2 separate regions of the Homo sapiens genome follow, and region 2 is linked to region 1. Evidence: promoter capture Hi-C in human tissues and cell types (Jung and others, 2019). All regions are on one chromosome and are shown on one strand. The core of a region is centred on a gene start or on the middle of the fragment in contact, and the rest is flanking DNA. Distances in the headings are between cores, read along the strand shown.

Region 1 (5,726 bases), core at 2,291-4,790:
ATTCCCTGAATGCAAACTGCATTTGGTGACATTTTCATGTGAAAGACTTTGAAATGCTAGCTAGTTATTTTTACCAATTTCAAATTAACAAGTATTTATTCAGATCTTAAATTAATGTTAGCCATTATGAAACCACTGTATAGAATATTAGTTTCTAATTCCTCAAAATATAACTACTAGAGATGCTAACTTGACTCTCCATTGTTTTTATTCACTAAGTGGGGTAAAGGAAGAGTTAAAGCATATGTATGTTGATGACTTGCAATTATTTAGCCTCTTTGTAAAGTAGGCTTTGTTTTCCATTTGAACAGTTTTTTTTTTAAAACTCATTTTTATCATTTTGTTTTTTTCACTCGCCTCCCAATCTCTTGTCCCTTCACATGCTACCCCCAAAAGACACACTATTATCCAGCTTGTGAGAATGTCTGTTAGAAAAATGTTTCCTTCATGGCTTTTGCAATAATTTTTTGTTAAACGTGATCAAAATCACAATAATTTGCCGAGGAAAAAGATAAAAGAGACCTTCATTTTAATGTTATTATTATACTGAAATTTGATATACTTAAATTCTAAATATTCATTCATAGTTTTATGCATGTTGTCCAAGATTTTAATAATACTACTTACAAAGTAGTAATACAAAAGGCATCATGCCTGTGGGACTTTTACGTTGAAATAAACTTTAACAATTTTCAATGATATGAAGTGGCAGATTATAAATATGCATATTTAAAGAATTTCATTCATTATAATATATTCATTGGTATTCTTTCCTCTCTATGTGCAGTTTAAATAGAGTGTAGTTACATTGAAAAAAAAAATCCAGAAAGACAAAGTTGCATTTTCTCTTAAAAACAGAAAACTTTTTAAATTTTCCACTGGTTAAAAGACTACAGAAAACTCCTATCTAGCCTATTTTCTTTAGATTTTAGGCAGAGTGATGTAAGTTTTAAGATGTTAGTTGCAAACAGGTCCAATTAGTGAGTATGGAGAAATTATTAGATTATATTTGCTGCTAACTTTTGTTCCAGATGGAACCTAGAAGCTCTGATCTTTTTTACCCAGCCATTTGGCTTTAATCTATTATAACAAATTAGTTTAGCACTGAGAAAAACAAGACAAAGTACAGTTATTATTAAACACAATTAGTGTATGATACAAAAATTATAGGTCACTTGTTCATTATATGTCCATTAAAAGGTAAAAGCTGTTTACATTGTAAGTGTGACACTTAGCTTAACAGGAATATCTCTCTTAAATAGTAATGCTTAAAAAGTTATAGAAAAATAATAAAATGAAAAATACTCAAATACTTTTATGTTTCCAATGCAAAACTGCAATGCTTTTTATAGGCATCCTGTTCTTAGTGAAATGCTCCTGTTTATAATACATCTTTTGACTATGATCTTGGGGAAATTACATTATTTCTGTAAAATGAGTCTGTTCACAAATACAGCTATGTTAAATGCAATACTGGGCATAGGTTTTCTTGACAAACAATATGCAATAATGTTGGTTCTTTACACTCTTGATTACTTGGTTAGGCCACTAGAAATAAAAATTCAAACCAATTGAGGGTGGTGGCTTACTTATTTTAATTTTTTTTTTTTTTTTTACTTCTTTGGCATTTATAGTATTAAATTTTCAGGCATCAATTAAAATTTGATAACCAGAGCTTATGATGATAAAGACTTTTCTGAGGCTAACTTTTGCTTTCAGCTAAGTCTGTAGTTTGGAGTCTATAGATCTCGAGGAAAAATAATCTTAGAAAGTGCCTCTGTAGTTGAATAAATACTGAAAACGGATTCAAATGCAGTGTTATTTCAAATTCCATGTCCATTTCTCATTTGGTGACTTGCTCCAATAAAAGAACGAAAATGCTTCAGAATTCATTACTGAGTGTACATTTCCTGCCATGTTCTCCCACCCCACCCCCTAGCTATCTGAGATGCTTTGGTAACTGATAAACTGCAATTGTTTATAAACAATAACATGGCAGGCACCATGTGAAAAACAGAAATATAGGCCCAGTTTCCATTATCCATTCTAATAGGCATTCATTACATTGTACAAATATACAGAATATCTAAAATCCTTCTTTCACGTTATGGTTTTAGTCTTTTATTTTTAAAAGATAAACTTAAAAAGTAGTAGATTGATTTTATTTTTAGTTTCCGTCCCTCTCTTTTTTACCCAATCCCTTGTAAAAATGCTGCGAAGGTTTTTGGGCTTGGCAGAAACAGAAACTTTGGAAAGATTTTTTTACAGGTTACATTTACTTATTATTAGCATTTATTTTACAGGTTACATTACCTTAGAGGGGGAGTTATTAGTTTGAGTTTTATCATCTGTCTTGGTGGGTTTAGCATGCTGAAGAGGCCCACAGTGCTGACACTCCCGCGCGTCCCACCCTGAGTAAACCCGGAGCCTAGAGGGCTGCAGAAACACGTCCGCCAGGCGTCTCCTGCCCCAGAAGAGGAGGCCGCATGGATGCGTCTTTTTTCCAGAGACCCCCCCGCCACAGCCGCCCCGCAAGCCAAGATCAGAGAACCCCTTCCTTGGGTGGGGTAGGGGGACGCCCCCGGCCAAAGCCTGGATTGCGGTCTGGCGTCCCGGCAGCCATCCGGATGCTCGCGAGGACCGTGGCCTGTTTGGCACAAGAGCCCCACTGCCTCCCAGTTCGGAGCTTGCTGGGGACCGGCAATCTGGGCGGTGCTGGAAGTGTCCCCTGAACCTCTCAGTTTTCACCCACCTTCTGCAATCTCCCTGTAAGCTTAATTGACTCTTGACACACCGCACTGGAGGCGGGGTGTGTGTGTGGGTAAACTCCGTGTGTGGTGGGTGATATTGCGAAGTGTTGGCACTGCGGCCGCTTTCGCTCCTAGGTGGCCGCGGTCGGAAGGTGGGTCACCCCGCACCCTTGCGGCCGGGGACCGACTCTCCTTCGCGCGGCGGTCGCCACACTTACGGGATCCGAGGCGGGATCTCCTCCATCGATTTGAAACGCCCTGTCCACAGCAGGATTTTCTTGTCGAACTGCGAAGGCCTGCGCTGCGTGGGGACTCGGTGAATCTCCCCTGCAGCGAAAGCAACCCAGATGGACGCGGGAACTGACGCACCGGCACAGAGGATCAGCGCGCCCTCAAGCCGACTCCCGGGCCGGCCCCTCGCTGCCCTCCCGCAACCTCCTCCCTCCCAGGACCTCCCCGTCGGAGCCCTGGCTCACCGTGACCTTGGGGCCCAGAATTGCTGGGGGCCCCGCCGCTGGAGTAGCAGGGGAGACCCCGGGGCGGAAGAGCCGGTGCGGGCCGTCGCGTGGCCTCGAGAGGCGCCCCGGGGCCGCAGCGGACTGTTAGCCCGCGGCCAAGGCGCAGTAGGCTCCCGACCGCCCTGAGCATGCTGCCCGCTTGTCCCGCGCCGCACCCGCACCTCCGGACCCAGCCACAGGCGTTGTCCCCGCAGCTCTCCTCGTCCCGCCCCGGCCTGCCGCGCGCTGGAGAGCCTGGGACGTGCAGCTGGAACCCCTGGCGCTCGCACACTCAGCTCGCTATCCCCGTCTCCGCCCCCGGCCAGCGACCCGGGATCAGGGCGTCAAGCCCCGAGGGGCTGGTTCCTCAGGAAGCAGCCTGCCTCTGTTTGAAACAGGCTCACCACCGCCTGAGGCAGTGCGTGTAGCTCCTTTTAAATTCTTTGTATTGAGTAGAAATGTATTCCCGCCAGGCTTTTAGCCTTTGATTCCATCGTTTGTTCCCCAGGAGAATAAATCTAAATCCTCTCTTCCAGGAAGAGACAACAATCCTTCAAGTGCAGGAAACTGAAGACATTTCCCAATTAAGTGTTAAGGGCACTCCACTAACTTCTGGATGAGATTTCTTGAAGTTAGCTCCTCACCTCATCGTCTCCCACCCCCATACCTTTTCTCTTTCCTACGGAAAACAATCTCAATTCCTCCAAGTGCCTTTCTCTATCTTTTCTTCTTCTTTTCAGAGACAGTCTCTGGCTCTGTCACTCAGGCTAAAGTGCAGTGGCATGCTGATAGCTCATTGTAACGTCGAACTCCTGGACTCAAGTAGTCCTCCCACCTTAGCCTCCAGAGTAGCTAGGGCTTTGGTCGTGCGCCAGCACGCTCCGCTATTTTTTTTTTTTTTAAGAGATGGGATCTCACTATGTTGTCCAGACTGGTCTCCAACTCCTGGCCTCAAGCTATCAGCTGGGCTCTGCCTCCCAAAGCACTGGGATTACACGTATGAGCCGCCATGCCAGCTTCCTACCTCTTCATCTCTTAGCCCACAAACTCTCCACACTCCCTTCAAAATGTGCCTTTCTTCTGTCACCTTCCACCATCTCCTCTATGCTAAAAGGTAAAAGAATCTACTATTTTCAGGCATTAAATGGTAACAGGGATTCAGATTCAATGATTGGAGAGAAGGGTTGTACAAGCAATTTACTTATCTTGTTCCACAGACAACAGACCTCCTGCCAAGTCAAAGTGCTCATCAGCCCAGCACCAGGCCGAGCTCACCCTCCTCTGCTATTACTGCCTGTGAGTTTCCCTCCTTATCTAGACACTGCTTTGCACTTGTTGGATTTCTAGATATTTTGCTTCCTAACTAGACTGTCAGGCTCTTGAAAGCTATAACTTTTCTGTAACTGCCAGCTCAGTTTTTTTTTCTTTTTACATAACCGTGTTAAACAAAAAAAGAGGGGTTAATAGCTCTGTGAAGACATACATTTAGAGGAGCGCTTGCAGAAGGAACATGGGCTTTGCCTTCACACCTAGGTTTAAATCCCGGATTTGTGACTTAAAAGTTGCACAATCATGAGCAGTAAATCATTTAAGTTATAAGTCTTGGTCTCTTTTGTAAAACCAGAATTCCTATCTTTTAGGTTTATTCATGCAATGACTACCAGTAACCAGCTACGTGCCAGCTACCTCTCAGAGCTGGGGATGGAGCAGTGATGACATCAGGTGAAGATGAAGAAAAATAAAACAAGGTGAAAAAGAATAAGCAGGAGTAGAGTGAGAAGATATTTAGAAACCATGGTTAGCAATGTCCTTCTAAATGTGCCTGGTGTGTAATAATACTTCAGAAGATAATGATTTCTTTCCCCGTCACATTCTTTAGTCCCAAAACACAAGGGCATTTTAATTTATGAAATCTCCTGTGGGGAACTAGGAGCTCCCTGACCTTCAGGAGTTGTGATTATATTCCCAAGATATAGCTGAAAAATTGGCACTTAGTAGATATTTAATAAGTATTTGTTAAATAAATGAATAGATGAATACAAGTCTTCGAAAACAGAATAGTCTGCACCTAGGCTAGTTTACGAAAAGACTGAGATGCTTGAGGACATTCTATGTCCTTTTAAACTTCATACTTTCAGTGTCTATCATGTTGCTTACCACATAGCGGTCTCCAAATAAGTGTTTATAAAACTCAACTGAATGAATTCCTGCCTGAGAAAGTATGTTGCCATAGCTAATATTGCTCCAGCATTATGGTACTTGAAGATTCTTGCATTATTTAAATGTGGTTTTTTCTATTAGTATTTTATTTGTCTTCACATCACTGAGAGGGAGTATCCATAGAGCTAGAGAAAGCCATCACTGAGAAACAACCAATCGTTAATAATTCACTAAGAAATATTAAACAAGGGAAATAAGTTTATTTCCCTGGAGGGAATCAAATGTCATAAATATACACAGGATTTTCTATTTCGAGCTT
Region 2 (5,726 bases), core at 1,795-4,294, 200 kb after region 1:
CCATCACTGCATGTTTCTAATAGACACTTGGTTTTAGCAAAACAAAACCATCTGTCACGTTAAATTAAATGTTAATATGAATGGGTTGGTTTTTTAGTTCAGTTTATACAAAAATTGAAATTTCATTTTGTTTAATAAGGTTTGTATCTAGTTTTGTGGCCCTATGTATATAAGTAACATTATTTTAAGATCAAGTTCATACTGGGGGGGAGTTCTTGACAATATTTTTTATTCCTAATTTAAGTTTCAGAAACGCATCTCTATTGTTTTAATTATTTGCTTGCTACCCTTCACAAGACAGGTGGTTATATTCCAGTGATATAATTGAGGGGAAGGCGGGGGAAAAGTGGGGTTACTTAGAGAACTATAGTATCAAAACATCTCTGAATTTGAAGGAAAGAGAGATTATGTAGTTTCACAGGGTCTCTATTCTGAAAATTTCTATACTACAAGCATGCATATTTCTCTTTATTGCATTACACATTAATTGCATTCTATATAGAAATTAAGACGCATTATAATAATTTTTCTTTACAATGAAAAATCAATACCTGATTTTCTGTTGAAGTTCTTGTGTAAAGTAGAACTTTAAGAATAAAAAAAAAACCTGTTAAATCCAACTCCATCCCACATACATCTATATTAACAGATTTAAAACGACAACAACAAAGCCTGGAGAACTTGAATGGCTTATCATACAACTTGTTGGTAGCTTAATCAGAACCTACCTTTTCTATATCTTAGACTCAGACTGAGACAGGCCTGCTTATGACCTGTGCCTAGGGCACTTTACACTTCTCCTTCATCAACTCAGAGTCACTAAAATGACCAGTATTTGCCTTCCCCCACTGGACTCAGAGCTCTGTCAAGACAGGAACCTCTTATGCCGGATTCCTGATGTAGCCCAGTGTTGAGCACATATTTGGTGAGTAAGAGAGTGGGTACAGGGAAGGGCAAAGAAATGAAATGAATACAAGGAAGGAAGGAAGGAAGGAAGGAAGGAGGGAAGGAAGGGAGGGAGGGAAGGAAGGGAGGGAGGGAGGGAAGAAACAACGGAGAGATAGGGCAGGTCTGTAAACCTCGAATCTACTCTTTCTACTATAGCATGCTCCATGCAAAACCTTAAATCTACTGCTTTTTTTGGGATTTTCACTTGAGATTATAATGCTGTCATACCCAAAGGGCCATAAGAATTGAAGCTAGTTTAACATGATACCATAACTGAAGAAAACTTTATGAAGGTAAGACTATGCATATTTCACTAAAACTATATATCTAAGCCAAGCACAATGCCTAGCATGTAGCATGTGCTGAAAACATATTTATTGGATAAGTGTATACAGGCATTTTGAGAAGACGAGGGAAAAGTGTCACAGCCCACTCATACAAATCTGTGACGTCTTCAGCCAAGCAATTCATTTGTTTAGAAAATGAATCACAAGAAAATCAAACACATCCTCAGCAAATGGATTACAGGAAAACTATCTTTAATCCAATATTGCAAGATTAAAATTTACATTTATAAAGGATAATACAAATAGAGGGAAATAGAACGTGAATAAAATGAAATTAAATGCCTTAGTAAAACACTACAGAAAGAAACCTGTTTCCTCTAAAATAAAGATTGGACAGTTGGTAAACTCAAAAGGTACAATGATCTCTCCCAACTGAACCAAGTACAGAGAAACTGCCCTAAGAATGAATGACCACTCTTAACCACCTGTATTGCAGAAAATCATATGCAGATGTTGCAAACTAAGCAAGAGCAATGAAAAAAAAATCAGTGGGAAGAGCAAGCAATGGGTGAGTCTGGGGAAGCAGTCAGGGAATGTTGTGGTGGGTTAGTGGTAGGATGAAAGATCTCAGTTATGGTAGCATGGAGTGGCAAAGAGAGAGTCCAGGCTTTGCAGCTGAATAGATTTGGATGGAACATTTCCCATCTATGTGATTTTGGATAAATTATCTTCTTTGAGCTTTAGTTTTTTTATGCACAAATTGAGGACTATGATAATTGCATTAGAGTTATTATATAAATAGTTGCTGACTATTTACATAGTCATATGTATTGCATATGACTAATGCAGTAAGCACTCATCAACGGTATTTTATTATTATCATTATTATTTTACTATTACTATTTTTCTATTATTTTTATTATTATTTTACTATTATGATTATGATTGCCTCAGCATCAGGGATCTTTGAACATAAAGGGGAAAAATGGTAGCACTATTTCACTTTGATATTTCTAGCAAGCTCCTAGGTGATGCTGATGGGGCTAATCCATGGACCACACTTTGAAAAGCCAGGTTGAGCCCTTTTGGAATCTCTGGCCGTCCTCCATAACCACAGTTCAACAAGATCTCCAAGTGAGTCCTATGTAAACCAAAGTGTAAGAAGCACTAATGTAGGGTACAGATCTTCTGATGCAAGAATTCTTTCTACAAGAGAGACTGTGAGGACAAGTTTACTTTGTGCTAAACAATAACAATTATGTTAATGGAGGTACATCGTTTTGAGTTTTCTTCTCCTTGTGTCCTGCAGGAAGAAGGATCAGTTGAGGAGGCAGCTGATGTTACAGAAGAGCTGACCCTCACTCACTGTCACTGAGGCAGCTAAGCTTGACTCCCTTGCTTTTTATAGAATGAGGATTTGAAAACAGCTGGGCTGCTGTGTTCTTAGAGTGTTACTAGCTAGGCCAAAGTGGATCAGCTGTTACTAGGGTCCCTTTAAGCCTTTCTTGTTGTGGCTTGGTTCATTTTCAAAGGCAGCAAGTAGAAAAGGTGCCTAGTGCTTCTCCCTGTCCAATGCAGCTAATTGCCCCTCAGTTCTGAGCAAAAGGCATCCCTTGTGCTTTGATGCCTGAATGTATGGGAAGGTGCAACTGGTTTACTTGTCTGGGGCCTCTCTGGGAGAGATTTGTAGTCCCAAATTTATCATGGGGGTATGTAAAGGGACATGGGTTGGAAACAGCAGAGACTATTTTCCCGTCTGAATCTCTGTCCTTAATCGAAAGTAGAATGGTTTCTACCTCACTGTTGGTCAGGCTTTGAGGAAACAGAAATGGAGAAGTGGGAAAAGCTATGGGAGAATTAAATAAGGGGAGAAAATTCAAAGGAATTTTCTAGCTCCGAAGAGAAATTTAGACCACAAAAAGGAGAATCTTGGATTCATGCCCCCTGGCTGCATATTATCAGAATAATCTTTGTATTACAGTGGGGTAAGAACGAAACAGGTCTGCTATAGATACTCACTTATCAATCAGGAGTCAGAGTCTATAAAATAGAGGTGAAGTAAGAAACAGGTTAATAAGAGAACAGTATATCTACAATCTGTCTGGTTCAAATAGCCTCATCCTCTTTTGAGAAGCCAAATCTACGCTCACTACTCCCCCTGCTGGATCTACAAGAGTAGATTCCCAGATTCATAAACTGCAAATCATTCATTTAACCTGCTCTCTATGAATTAAGCACTTGCACTGAAGTACGCAATGCCATTTTGATGGAATGGGGAGAACAAGGCCAACTCTTATATTTCTGACTGTTTATATTGCTAGATAAAAAAGAAAATCCAGCATAACTTATTTTCCATAGGAAAGAAAAATAAAAGCAAAAGGTCCCAGCTGTAGACACCTTGATAGCATTGATATGTAAGTATTCCTAGAAATAATGAATAAGTATTCTGCATGTACTACAGCAGCAAGACTTGCGCAACTTCTCCTCCCCTTTCTCTTTCTGTAAATCTCACAGCAAGGACAGTGAGTGCTTCCTTCTTTCTCATTGCAAATGGAAATGCTCTCGGCATGCTGGCTTCAATGGCAAGTATTGCATTATTTTAAAAACTTTCAGAGAAAAACAGTAAGAATGATTGAACAGCTCACCACGGGCAGGTAAAATCTATTAAAAGCATTTTTATTCTTTATTTCTAAAATAGTTTGTCATAAACATCCCTCCTTAATTCCTCTTTCCATCTTAATCAGGAAGCTTTTATCATGGGATCATTTTAAAAATTTTATTGTGGATAATTTCAAACCTATACAAAAGTGAAAAAGATAGTACCACCCTCCACACACTCATCCACCCAGCTTCAACAGTTATTGACACAGGTCCAATCCTCAGTGTCTAACTTTCTCCTGTAGCATTATTTTCAAGTATATATCACACATATTATTTCATTAATAAATGTTCTAGTATGTATTCTAAAACATACTAGACTATTATTCATTAATTATATACAGATTAATATATATTTATATATACTGTTATTATATATTTATATATTTATATTAATATATAATATATATTTTATATTAATATATTATATTAATTAATATATAATATCTATTATATATAGTTCACTATATAGAATGAACATAACTATAATATTATTACTAGACTTAAAATTAACATTTCTTAATATAGAATATCCAGTAAGTGTTCAAATTCTAATGCCCTATGAATCATTGATTTTTCATAATTTGTTTGAATTAATTTCAAAGTAAGGTTCACAAATTGTGCCTCATTGATATGTATTTTAAGACATTTTAATCTACACATTTCTTCTCCAACTCTCTTTTCTTTGCAATTATTTTTGAGGAAGCCAGATTGTTTGTCCCATAGAATTTCCTTCTTCTGGATTTTACTGATTGCACCTCTGTATATTTTAATAAGTTTTTTTTTGTCCTCTGTATATTGGTATTTGAGCCTAGAGGCTTGCCAAATAGGTTGAATTTTTTAAGCAAGATTACTTTATAGGTAGTGGTGTGTTCGTCTATCAAGAGGTATCAAGAGTCTGATGATTACTCCTTTGTCCTGTTAGCAGCTGTTGATGCTCAATGCCTAAACAATTAATTCATTCATTGTGGGTTGGAAGATAATGATAGTAATGATATGCTAATTCAATAATTTCTTATGTACTTAATAACTGGACTATTCTACAGAAAAATACTTATGTTTGGTTACCCAGTGATATAGTTTGTGTAGGAAAGACAAGTTACTAATTTTTACCTTCTATTTACTAATTATCAAAATAATGAGGTGGTTCCCTAAAACCCTCCAAAAGTGACTAATTAATTTTGTTTCTAATCATGTGTCTTTAAATGACCTTTAAGGTCAGTTTTGGAATAGTTGGGTTTTGACACAATTCACAGGTTTCTACCAATTAATTATAAATTTGCTTTTCCATTATTCTTATTCCATTTTTTTCCCTTTTTTACAGTGATATGTATTTTCAACCTTTCATTTGGATAGGTATCTTTTTTCCTTCAGTGGGAAGTTACCTGTTCCTTCTCCCAAAGCCTTAAATATTTATTTCTATTTTTTCTCTCTCTCACCCAGTCTCAAACATAAACCTACTCATTCATGCATTCATTCATTTATTTGTTCATCCATTAAACAATGCCTGTGAGTGCTAACTATGTGCCAGGCATTGTCCTGAAACAGACAAAAATTCCTTTATTATTAAAATTATATTGCAATGGGGAGGACAGGAAACATACACAAGATAAAAAAGACCTCCCACTCCTGTTTTTAATGCCATCCTCCCATTTTTGTTCCCCTTTCTTCCCAACAGCATTGTCATCAGTTTTAAAGCCTTCTGAATTATAATAATGAATGAAGCTATTTTTTTTTGTTTGGAAGTTGGCAAGAAGTTGAGATGCAGGGGAATTGGAAGGAAAAGTTTTTTGTTTTTTTTTCTGCAGTTGTGAATGTATAATACTGTGTTTC

What was found. Contacts are between HindIII fragments. The study calls those that stand out against the background at their distance.
Region 2: a fragment that was not itself captured here is called in contact with the fragment with the promoter of FAM162B in region 1 in 1 of the 25 tissues and cell types used here (thymus).

Annotation. Positions count from the first base shown.
Region 1 is chr6:116,762,179-116,767,904 of GRCh38, forward strand. FAM162B (family with sequence similarity 162 member B) reads right to left here and starts at 3,541. Exons shown (of 4, transcript NM_001085480.3): 1 at 3,227-3,541; 2 at 2,969-3,077. The coding sequence starts at 3,398. It overlaps LOC105377963 (a long non-coding RNA gene), which reads left to right and starts at 4,190. Exons shown (of 3, transcript XR_942910.3): 1 at 4,190-4,361; 2 at 4,465-4,543; 3 at 4,888-5,726. RefSeq lists an enhancer at 2,562-3,076. The HindIII fragment of the contact is 7,101 bases long and covers 1,319-5,726 here.
Region 2 is chr6:116,966,000-116,971,725 of GRCh38, forward strand. No RefSeq gene overlaps it. Among named protein-coding and RNA genes, the nearest start is that of RFX6, 92 kb to the left of the region's middle. The HindIII fragment of the contact is 4,188 bases long and covers 951-5,138 here.